Regions from separate parts of the Homo sapiens genome. Here all the other regions are linked to region 2. The links are contacts of gene promoters, found by promoter capture Hi-C in blood cells and fetal thymus (Javierre and others, 2016). All regions are on one chromosome and are shown on one strand. The core of a region is centred on a gene start or on the middle of the fragment in contact, and the rest is flanking DNA. Distances in the headings are between cores, read along the strand shown. Region 1 overlaps EFCAB8 (EF-hand calcium binding domain 8). Region 2 holds the start of BPIFA1 (BPI fold containing family A member 1). Region 3 overlaps EFCAB8 (EF-hand calcium binding domain 8). Region 4 overlaps EFCAB8 (EF-hand calcium binding domain 8).

What was found. Contacts are between HindIII fragments. The CHiCAGO score rates a contact against its expected background, and 5 or more counts as called.
Region 1: a fragment that was not itself captured here is called in contact with the fragment with the promoter of BPIFA1 in region 2 in 6 of 17 cell types (M1 macrophages, M0 macrophages, endothelial precursors and 3 more); the score reaches 6.8 in M1 macrophages.
Region 3: a contact is called between a fragment that was not itself captured here and the fragment with the promoter of BPIFA1 in region 2, in 1 of 17 cell types (endothelial precursors). The highest score is 5.5, in endothelial precursors.
Region 4: a contact is called between a fragment that was not itself captured here and the fragment with the promoter of BPIFA1 in region 2, in 2 of 17 cell types (M1 macrophages and naive B cells). The highest score is 5.7, in M1 macrophages.

The regions. Positions count from the first base shown.
Region 1 is chr20:32,921,616-32,924,527 of GRCh38, reverse strand. All of the region lies in intron 20 of EFCAB8 (EF-hand calcium binding domain 8), which reads right to left. Among named protein-coding and RNA genes, the nearest start is that of EFCAB8, 64 kb to the right of the region's middle. The HindIII fragment of the contact is 1,581 bases long and covers 567-2,147 here.
Region 2 is chr20:33,234,614-33,237,564 of GRCh38, reverse strand. BPIFA1 (BPI fold containing family A member 1) reads right to left here and starts at 1,569. Exons shown (of 9, transcript NM_130852.3): 1 at 1,515-1,569. The HindIII fragment of the contact is 3,888 bases long and covers 1-2,951 here.
Region 3 is chr20:32,943,111-32,945,996 of GRCh38, reverse strand. EFCAB8 (EF-hand calcium binding domain 8) reads right to left here. Exons shown (of 27, transcript NM_001143967.2): 23 at 2,193-2,361. Among named protein-coding and RNA genes, the nearest start is that of SUN5, 60 kb to the left of the region's middle. The HindIII fragment of the contact is 334 bases long and covers 1,105-1,438 here.
Region 4 is chr20:32,896,109-32,899,050 of GRCh38, reverse strand. EFCAB8 (EF-hand calcium binding domain 8) reads right to left here. Exons shown (of 27, transcript NM_001143967.2): 10 at 2,524-2,597; 11 at 428-558. Among named protein-coding and RNA genes, the nearest start is that of EFCAB8, 39 kb to the right of the region's middle. The HindIII fragment of the contact is 5,318 bases long and covers 1-2,942 here.

The DNA of each region.
Region 1 (2,912 bases), core at 108-2,607, 310 kb after region 2:
AATGGGAATAATAATAATAGTACATTCTTTTCAGATGTATTAAACATTCTTTTCACATACATTCTTTTCAGATGTATTAAATAAATAAAAATCCCTCATAAATAAATAATAATAGTACATACTTCCCAGGGCTGTTTGATGGACAAAATAAAAACAACACATGTAGCTGGGCATGGTGGCTTATGCCTGTAATCCCAGCACTTTGGGAGGCCAAGGCAGGAGGATCGCTTGAGCCCAGAAGGTCAAGACTAGCCTGGGCAACATAAGGAGACTCCATCTCTATAAATATATATTTTTTTAATGAGCCAGGCACAGTAGCACACACCTGTGGTCCCAGCTATTAATACTCAGAAGGCTGAGGTGGGAGAATCGCTTGAGCCTGGGAAGTGGAGGCTACAATGAGCTGTGATTGTGCCACTGCACTCCAGCCTGGACAAGAGAGCTGAGATTCTGTCTCAAAAAACAAAAAATAACACATGTAAACCATTAAGTTCATTGTCTGGCAGATATTGAGAGCTCAATAATTACTAGCTACCACTGAAACATAATGCAAGATAGCAAAAGCTTTCCAGGAGTATGTTTCTAATCCTAGAGTTTTATATCTGGAAATAGACAAGAGATCCAAAATTTATGTACAAGGGTATTCATTGCAATGCTTTCTATAGAGGCAAAACCCAGCGGCAGCAGATAGCTATACAGACTCTGTGCAGTGTACCCAGGACATGATGTGACTAGTAAAAGGAATGCCATGGCTCCGTAAACACCGTCATGAAGAGATGCCCGTGAGGAGTCAAGTGAAAAACAGCAAGTCCCGGAATAATACATGCAATATGATATTATCCAGTGAAAAATATCTAGATTTATATATATACATTCATACATGTATGTACTTGTATATGCACAAAAAAATTCTAGAAGGCTACAACACATGTCTTAACGTAATTACCTCTGGAGGCTGAGGAGGGAGACAGCCATTCTTTTACTTTATACACTCGTATAAAGTTTCATTTTTTTTCATAGGTGGTGGTGGTGGTGTTGTTTTGGAGGCGAATCTCACTGTGTCACCCAGGCTGGAGTGCAGTGGCACGATCTCAGCTCACTGCAACCTCCGCCTCCCGGGTTCAATCAATTCTCCTGCCTCTGCCTCCCGACTAGCTGGGACTACAGGAGTATGCTGCCACCCCTGGCTAATTTTTTGTATTTTAGTAGAGACGGGGTTTCACCGTGTTGCCCAGGCTGGTTTCGAACTCCTGAGCTCAGGCAATCTGCCCACCTCAGCCTCCCAAAGTGCTAGGATTACAGGTGTGAGCCATCGCACTGGGCCAGGTTTGTTTGTTTGTTTAAGAGACAAGGTCTAGCTGTGTTGCCCAGGCTGGAGTGCAGTGGCACAATCACAGCTCACTGCATCCTTGACCTCCCAGACTCAAGTGATTCTCCCAACTCAGCCTCCCAAGGAGCTGGGTGCACCGTGCACACTATCAAACCTGGCTAATTTTTTTAATTTTTTGTAGAGATGAGGTCTCATCATGTTGCCCAAGCTGGTCTAGAACTCCTGGGCTCAAGCAGTCCTCCCACTTTGGCCTCCTAAAGGACTGGGATTACAGATGTGAGCCACTGCTCTTGGCCTGAATTTTTTTAGTTTTAATTAAGGACATGTATCACTTTCTAATTAGAGGAAGAAAGTATCAGAGAGAGATACAGAGAGAGAGAGAGAAGTACTCATTCTCGAACATTCCATGCCAGCTCTCCCATGTGGGCCCTTGCACCTACCTTCTCTGCCTGCATCACCCTCCTTCCAAATAACTGCAGGCCATGTTTCCTCGCTTCCTTCAGGCTCTATGCAGATGCCACCTCCTCTGTGAAGCCCTCCCTGACCAGCCTATTCATAAAACAGCAATGCCATCTCCTCCCATGTCTGTTCTCCCTGCCATCTTCCCGGCTTTCTTGTCCTCCATTGTCCTCACTCACTCTGTGACATGCCCTTTATTTTATTTGCTGGTTAATTGTCTATCTTGCCCCAACTAGAATGACAGCTCCAGAGGTCAGGGGCTTGATATCTTTCATTCACTGCTCCTTCCCCAGCGGCTGGCATGTAGCGAATGCCTGTGTCCTGACAGCACTAGGTCACTAGCCCAAAAGATCAAGCTTTGAGCCATCTACCTTGACTTCACAGATTTAAAGAGATGGGATCTGTTGGCAATTCTGTTTCCAAGAATCCGTCCTCTCAATATACTCACACTAGTGCCCAGAAATGTACGTGCAAGAATGTTCAATGCAGTGCTGCTCCTAAAAGCTAAAAACTGGAACTAACCCACAGACCTATTCATAGAGGACCAGCTTCACAGTTCCTGATGCATCCAAGTTATGCAGCAGTGGGCAGTTGTTAAAAAGAATAAGATGGCCAGGTGTGGTGGCTAATGCCTGTAATCCCAGCACTTTGGGAAGCCGAGGCCAGTGGATCACCTGAGGTCAGGAGTTCAAGACCAGCCTGGCCAACATGGTGAAACCCCGACTCTACTAGAAATAAAAAAGCAGCTGGGCATGGTGGCACATGCTTATGGTCCCAGCTACTCTGGAGGCTGAGGCAGGAGAATCACTTGAACTCAGGACGCAGAGGTGCAGTGAGCTGATATCGCAACACTGCACGCCAGCCTGGGTGACAGAGCAAGACTCCGTCTCAAAAAAAAAAAAAAAAAGAATAAGGTAACAAAAGAATAAGATGAATCTAAATCCCTCTCATGAAAGTATATCCATGCTATAGACTTACAGAAAAAAGCATATGGCAGGACATAGCTATCATTTTATATTACTAGTCAAAAAAAAAAAAGTACAAGGCTAAAACCAACCTGTTAGCAGCGAATGCTGCTGTTGAGAGTGGGATGGGATAGGGTGAGTGAGATATAGGGGACTTT
Region 2 (2,951 bases), core at 320-2,819:
TGCTGAACAATTTCTCTTTGCCAGGCAACAGGCTGACCACTTTACACAATTTCATCTTCATCACAACCCTAAGACATGGGCACCTGTTACCTGCATTGCACAGGTGAGGACCACTGATCAGGGGCCTAAAAAGGAGACAGCCCCACTCCACCACATTCCAAAGAAGAGGGTTTTTTTCCTTCTTGCCAAGAATCCCAGCCTCACCTCACTCCATCTTGCCCACAGTTCACTTGTCTGATTTTCCAGTAGGAGAAACCAAGGCTCACAGAGGTCAAGTGAGTTTGCAGTTGGGAGTTTCAAATATACTCCCATCCCTTCTTGAAACCCACTTGTGTACTACCGAGTGTGGGTAACTTTCCCCAAGGTCACAAGTACACGGTGGACAGAGGATTAGAAGCTAGAGCCAGGTGAACCCTCGGTTAAATTAAGTAACCATCAGATTTATTCTCCAATCGGGCTTGCTTCAATGGTTTGAATCATTGCTGCTCTTCAGACAAAGCAAATGAGAAGGGTTAAACGTGCAAGTGCTGAAGAATTGAACTGTTTTAGATCATCCCTGTTCAGTCCTTTGGCCTGAGCTCAGGCCATGATGGTTGGTGGATGCCCTTGAAAGTCACACAATACAGGGGTCGCATGGCCACAGCCACCATCTCATGTAGACCTTTGTTGGGGAATTCCTGGGGCCATCAAAGTCTTCATTGCATGAGAAGAACCAGGAGACCAAAGAGGGGTAGTGACTTTCCCAAGGTCATACAATAAATTGATGGCAGAGCTGTGGTTGAAGGCAGGTCTCCCAACCCTCCCCTCACCCAACACACAAACATGCATTCTATCATTTTGACACCTTTCTCTTCTCCTTCAAGCTGCCCTGGATGGAATTCCGGTCAACCCCTGAGGTTTGGCTTGCAGACCTCTCACAGGTCTATTTGGCAGCCAGCAGAGTTGTCCAGAGCCAGCACTAGTACCTACAATTTGGAGACAACTGGTGACTTTGTGCAAAATTCCATCTATTGGCTGACTCAGCTAAAGCTCCATCCTTGTGGTGGAAGGCTGGAAATGAAAGGTCTTTGGTCCAAAGAGCCAGTTGTGCCCTTCTTAGGGAGGTAACTTTGACCACAGCCTCTGAATCTCTTTTGGGCAACAGACCCTTTATGAATCCAATGGAAGCTAAAGATCCTAGTCTCAGAAAAAATGCATCAAAATGTATAAAATTGGGTGAAGAATTTTAGGAGGTTTTTGGATCATCTGTATCCACATTGGTAACCTCAAGCTAAAACTTATGCCTTAGAGGCTTTCATTTACGGCATTAATAGTGCCCATTTCTATATCAATGTTACTGGTCTCTTAGGACAGCAGAGCAAATGGCCATCCCCACATCCCTGACATTGGCCAGGTCTGTTTCTCTTGCACAGCCCCCAGTGAGTGATCAAGATCACTCACTGCCCCACAGGGCAGGAGCCTGAGATCCCTGCCGTTAAGGGTAGCAGAGGGGCCACAGAATGGATGGCTCTTACCTGGACTTCTTAGAGGTCTCAGCAGCTGTCCTGGTCTCCTCTCTCTCCCCCACTCACTTCTGCCGAGGAGTCAGCCTCTTTTATAGTATGGGGACGAGGAAGCATGTGTTGGGTGATGGGTTTCTAGATAATTGAGAATTCTGCAATCTGACAGTGTCTTTCAGGGCTCTCCAAAGTAAATAATTGCCAATCACATTAGCAGGTGAGACAGTTAAGCTATTTGGTCAACAAGATAAACAGAGAAAAACCTGAGATGGGATGTTACTCAAGACTTTATGGTTTCCTGAGCGGAGCCAAGGTTGGGGACCCACGCTCCCAAGGTAGCTTGGAGCATTGAAAGGAGCAGCCAGACAGAGCCCAGGAAGGGACCTCAGTCTCATCTCTTGGCCCCTTTCCTCTCCTGCTCTAATTTTTTTGCTCCAGTTGGAGGATTCTTTCTCCTAAAATGTCAAAAGAGTCACACTGCATCCTACATCTGGGGTGCGTCTCCATTCCAGGGCAAGGGTCTCCTGTTTTCAGAGCCCCTATTGCACGTCAGGAGCTCTCTGTCCTCACAAGAACCCTGAGAGGGAGAGGTGACTCCTCCTCTTTTATAGAGGAGGAAACTGAGATCCAGTGGGGACAAGTGCTGAAAGACCCAGAGAGGATGCAGCAGAGTTAGAATGCAACTGACTGGAGAATGAAAACAACAAAAACAACGCCAACAGCAGACACTGGCCGAGCTCCTGCTGTATGCCTGGCCTGCCATGGTGTTCACAGGCAGCATCTCACAAAATCCTCACAACCCTGTACTCCTATTCTATAAGGGGGAAACTGAGGCTGAGTGTGAGGCAAGTTGTCCAGAGATGCAGTGCTTGCCTGGGGTGAGACATCCACATTCAGGTCCTTTCCCCGAATCACTGCACTGAGAGATGAAGGTGCCTCCCAACACTTGCTGGCCATTTTGATTTCCCCACCTGTGAACTTTACACTTTCATGCGTCCCTTTTTATTTTTTAAATTTTCACTTAATTTTTATTTTATTTTATTTTTTGAGACAGTCTTACTCTGTCGCCCAGGCTAGAGTGCAGTGGTGTGATCTCAGCTCATGACAACCTCCACCTCCCGGGTTCAAGTGATTCTCCTGCCTCAGCCTCCTGAGCAGCTGGGACTACAGGCGAGCGCCACCATGCCTGGCAAAGTTTTTGTATTTTTAGTAGAGATGGGGTTTCACCATGTTGGCCAGGCTGTCCTCGAACTCCTGACCTCAGGTGATCCACCTATCTCAGCCTCCCAAAGTGCTGGGATTACAGGCGTGAGCCACAGTGCCCCGCCGCTTCTCTTTTAGGTCCTGGAAAAGTCTTTCCAGGTTCCCAGGCCTGAGGGATCCTTTGGCATCCTGGTCTCTATCCTACCCTTTCTTCTACCTTTCCCTAAATGGAGTAATCAGGCATTTATT
Region 3 (2,886 bases), core at 22-2,521, 290 kb after region 2:
TGTCTTGCCTCTCTCAGACTATTGAAGGACCCAGCATATTCTAGAGGCCTGGGGGAAGCTTGTAGCCGCTCTAGAGAACTTGCAGTACTGCAAATAGACACCAGAGAGAGCAAGAGATAATGGACTCCTGAAAAAAATAAACCTGTAGATTCCTGTAATTGCGAATTTACATGCGTAAGTCTGGTGAAAGTATCCACAAAAAAGATTGGGGAGGCACCCAGAATCTTTAGCCAAGCTGATTGGTGCAGAATTTTCCCTGAATGAAGCCAGTATATAAAGACTGGGAGAGGTGGCTGATTTTACAAATGCATGGATCCCAATATAAAGTTATAAGGCACACAAAAAAAATAGGAAAGCATGGCCCAAAGGAACAAAATAAATCTCCAGAAACTGCCGCTAAAGAAATTGAGGTATATTAATTATTTGACAAAGAATTCTAAGTAACCGTAATAAAAATGCTCAACAAGCTCAGGGAAACAATACATGAACAAACTGAGAATATTAGTGAAGACACAGAAAATATAGAAAAGAACCAAACAGAGGCCAGCCATGGTGGCCCACACCTATAATCCCAACACTTTGGGAAGCTTAGGTGGGCGATCACTTGAGCTCAAGAATTCAAGGCCAGCCTGGGCAACATGGTGAAACTCTGTCTCTACAAAAAATACAAAAAATTAGCCAGGCATGATGGCATGCACCTGTAGTCCCAGCTACTCAGGAGGCTGTGGGAAGATCACTTGAGGCTGGGAGGTCAAGGCTTCAGTGAGCTGAATTCGTGCCACTGCACTCAACCCTGGGTGGCAGAGCAAGACCCTGTCTCAAAAAATAATAATAATAATAATAAAAATAACAGAAATTCTAGAGCTGAAGATGAAGAGTAAAATAATTGAATTCAAAAGTCATCTACAGCAGGCTTGATCAAGCAGAAGGAAAAATCAGCAGACTTGAAGATATCCAGTCAGAGAAGCAAAAAAGAAAAAAGAATTTTAAAGAGTAAAGAAAACTTAAGGGATTTATGAGACATCGTCAAATGGACAATATATGCATTATGGTAGTACTAGAAGGAGGAGAGAGAGACAGAGAGAGAGAAAGGGACAAAAAGCTTATCTGAATAAATAATGGCTGAAAATGTTTCAAATCTTAAAAAGGAAAAGAAACCTATATTCAAGAAGCTCAAGGGATTCCAACTAGGATAAAGTCAAAGAAATCCACAAGGAGACACATTATAAAAAGAACAAAAACTCTCATCCAAAAATACTATATCCAGGAAAGCTGTCCTTTAAAAATGAAGGAAAAATAAAAATTTTCCCAGATAAATAAAAACAAGAGGAGTTCATCACCATTAGACCTGCCTTTAAAGAAATGCTAAAGGGACCCCTTCAAGTTGAAACAAAAGGATGCTAGGCAGGAACATGAAAGCATATGAAAATACAAAGCTTTCTGATAAATGTAAACACATAGAAAAATACAGAATGCTGTAATACTGTAATAGTGGCACATAAGTCACTTTATTTTTATTATTATTTTTTTTTTAGACAGAGTCTCACTCTGTTGCCCAGGCTGGAGTGCAGTGACATGATCTCAGCTCACTGCAACCTCTGCCTCCCAGGTTCAAACGATTCTCCTGCCTCAGCCTCTCAAGTAGCTGGGATTACAGGCATGCACCACCATGCCTGGCTAATTTTTGTATTTTTAGTAGAGACAGGTCACTAAAACAAACAAACAAACACATAGGAAGACAGCACAGGAGGAAAAGGGGACAAAAAAGTGTTGGGATTACAGTAGTGAGCCACCGCGCCTGGCCCTAATTATTTCTTGACATGAACGGTGGCTATATGGGTATGTATTTACTTTCTCAAAATTCACCAAGCTGAACCCTTCTGGTTTGTATGTTTTTCTTTATATACAATGCAACAATTAAGTTTATTTTTTAAAAGAGAAAGGAATATGCTTTATCAGATATATGATTTGCAAAAATATACATAGGTGAATAATATTGGGTGGATGGGTGAATGGATGGACCGTTTGCTGAATGGATAATTGGACAGACTGTAATATTATTTAAGTGAAGGCAGTTGCTGTGGCCTGAGAGTCCCTCCCCACAGAGTACAAAGTTCATACCAGCTTATGTTCAGACAGGGACAGAGACAAGAAGGGCCATGGGCATGGCTGAGCTTCAGCAGGACCCATACCAATGGCATCACCGGAGAGTTTCCAAGCCTTGACGTCCCGGTCCTGGCCAGCGCTGATAACCAGCTGGAAGTTGTCCACATACAGGATGTCTGCCACACTATTCAAATGGCCTTTCCAGGTCATCAGGAGCGTGGGGGGAACCAGGGAAATGGTATGGCCAGCCACAACCTATAGGGGACAGTACAGGAGAAACACTTTTACCAAGACCACTACACAGGCTAATTAGAAGGCACCCAGGACTGCAGGCAGCAGAGCCCAGTTGGAAGGGCCCTGGGACACAGGCTAGCGTTCTAGTTCTAGATGCATTCCACATGAACTTGCTTGCGACCTTACATAGGTCCCGGCACTTCTCTGGCCCTCACTGGCCCCTTAGGTAAAACCATAAAAAGAACTTGCATTTACTTTCTCAAAATTCACCAAGCTGACTACATATGACTTGCATATGACTTGCATATGACTACATTGTTTACCAAGTGCCTCTGTACACATTATTCCATTTGAACCTCACAACCTTATAAGAAGTATATAATTCTCACTGACTTACAGAGGAGAAAAGTGAGAGTCAGACATGTTCAATAACTAGCCTAAGCCCACATAGCTAGAAAGTGATGGGGCCAGGGCAAGAGCCTCAGTCTTCTAAAGTTTTTCAGCTGGGTATTGGGAGATGAATAGGGTGAGCAATGGGGTGATAAA
Region 4 (2,942 bases), core at 186-2,685, 340 kb after region 2:
CTAGACTGAAGGAAACAGATTGGAACCATCTGCAAAGAACCAATGCTGCCAGTTACTGAACACATACCACAGAGGATTCCCTCATGCAACCCTTCAGGAAGTGAGGTACGTGCTTTCACACCCTTTCACAGATGAGGGAACTGAGGGTCACAGAGGAGAAAGTAACTCACAGTCATCCCTTCATTCAGAAAACATTTCACTGACTGCCAATCACTCTGTGCTGGCTTCTATGCTGAGTTTTGCATATAGATTGGGAGATAAAAGAGGCTGCTGTGTTCTCACCGTGCTGCTGCTGGCAATGCTGGAAAAACTAAACCCCAGAGTCCATACACCAACCACCATCTGCCACTGTCAGCCCCCATGGTCCACTCACCACCCCCCTCCCTTCCAGCCCCACCGCCTTAGCCAGGAGAGAAGCACTTCTTACCTGGGTTTCTTAGAGGCTTTGGCTGGCAATATTGTCAGCACCAGAGAGGACTTCTCGATGGCTGAACAGGAGACTACCACATTCATCTGGGGGATGAACTTGACCTGCTCACACCAGTTGGGATGGAGAGCCTGGGAAGACAGTAGCAATGGTGGGAGACTCCACCCAAGGACAACTTTCTAGGCCCAGCCCCCAGAACATGACCAGGTGCTGGGACTGGAGGTGCCCAGAGATCACGGAGTCTAATGCCCTTCTCCTAGTGATCACAAAGTGATGTGGCCCCGCAATCCTAGCCCAGGTCCTATGACCAGCACTGGCCATCTCTCGTCACTGAAAATTTTTAAAAGCACACAAGCCTACTTTCATTTGAAATCTTGTGAGTTAGAGGATGGGGAAGGTCAGGCCCATACTAATCATCTCCCACGAGGAGAGAAAGGATGAATTCAAGTCTGTCCAGGCCACAATCTAGTTATCCACAGGGAGCCCCCTCTACAGATGGGCTGTGCTCCCAGCCCACTGCCACCCTCCATGTTTGTCATAGCGTGGAGTGCTCAAGGAAGCGCGGAGGGCATGAGAATGTGCATTTCACGGCAACTTGAACCACAAAAGATGACGCGCAGTCGAAGGGGCTGGCTGGGCTCTGAATTCTCCGGCGCCAACTCTGTGACCTGGACCAGTGCTTGGCCTCCCAATCTAGAGATTTTCCTCTCTGTGACGAGAATGGAAAAGGCGGGTTGGAGAGATTGGCTCATCAAATATTTCTTTGGTGCTTTCTACATGCAAGACCCTGAGCTGGGTTTTACACACACTGTCACCAAGCATCTGTCGCAATGAAGGCACCGAATCCAAGACACTGAGTGAGACCTGGAGGGAAAACCAAGCCCAAGATGAGCTTCCCACAGAAGACAGAAGAGCGGGTGCAGTGGCTCACACCTGTAAACCCAGCACTTTGGGAGGCCAAGGTAGGTAGACCAGCCTGGGCAACATAGTGAGGCCCCGTCTCAAAAAAAGAATTAAAAAATTAGCTGGGTGTGGTGCTTGTATTCCCAGCTACTCGGGGGCCTGAGGTGGGAGGATCACCTAAGCCCGGGAGGTCAAGGCTGCAGTGAGCCATGATCGCACCACTGCATGCCAGCCAGGGCAGCAGAGTAAGGCCCTGACTCAACCAAAAAAAAAAAAAAAAAGTCAGTGCAGGCCTGTTGGATCACCCAGACCGCCCTGAGTGCGTCATTCATTCATTCATTTGTGCAGCAAATGTATTGGGAGCCCACCAAGCGCAGGGTACTATTTTAGGCACTGGAGACAACCGAGAGCACGAAGCCGCTGCCGTTGAGGAGCTGTCGATCTCGTGAAGGTGACAGCATGAGGAATCAATGGTCGGACCACACAAAGCTGGGAGCTGGTAAACACTGCGGGTGAAGGGATGAAAGCAGAGGTGGGCACAGGGTTGTCCTAGGAGGGCTGCTTGGGACCACAGGAAGTAGATAGGGGGAATACAGGTACCTTAGGGGAGAGCCCCGCGGCCTGAAGGCGCAGCACATGCCGAGGCACAGAGGCGGGAAGGGGCTGAGCCCATTCAGGGAACAGCAGAGGAGCCTGCGTCTCTGCAGGAGAGCAGATGGGGAGAAGGAAGGTTGAAAACAAGCCCAGAGCTTGCAAGCAGGAGCCAGATCACCTCACGTCCTGACGGCCATGGTAAGGACTTGAGATTTTGTTCCAAATGTGATGAGAAGCTACCGGGGTGACTCAACTGTATTTCTAACTCATCATTCCTCTGGCCCTGAATGGAGACAGTGCTGCATGAAGAAAGGAAGTGGGGAACCCAGCTAGAGGCCACTGCAGCCATCCAGGAGCGAGGCGGTGTCGGCCAGGACCAGGGCTTAGCAATGGCGGTAGTGAGAGGGGCATGGCCACAGAGATGTGGTCTGCAGATAGAGCTGACGGGATCCAACAGCTGCCGCAACCTGTTTCCAGAGACCAAACCCCAAGGGCTAAGACTGAACCCAGGGAGTAAATCCACTTTTTGCATTTATTTTGAGTGGTGTGTGTGTACAGATAATTACCATTGTAACAGGCCAAGGAAAGAAAAAACTCACCTTCAGCCGGTAGCTTCTATGCAAAGCAGACTTCTCATTTAAGAGTTTCTGCAAGGAAACTTTGATCCAGTGATCTGATAGGGGAAAAAACCAAGGTCCACATCAGCAGCTTTCCCCCTTCGCTTGGCAAGCAAAGCCTCAGAAGACGTCTTGAGTTGGCTTGCAACTCCTGTGCTTCTCAAAAGGCTTTTCCACCCAAACCCTCACTGGCACCTCACTGTGTCCTGGTGAGCTGAGCGGAGTGCCCCCACCCCAGGAAAAAGACTCAGGCAGATCACTGCTGCCTCCCAGAGTGCCCCTGCCAGTGCATGGCAGAACTAGAACCAGATTTCAGGGCACCTCACGCTTCCTAGGTGCTGCAATCTAAACAAGCTAATTCTTCATTAGGGAGCTCCATCTTTGCTGGAGTGGAGAAGGAA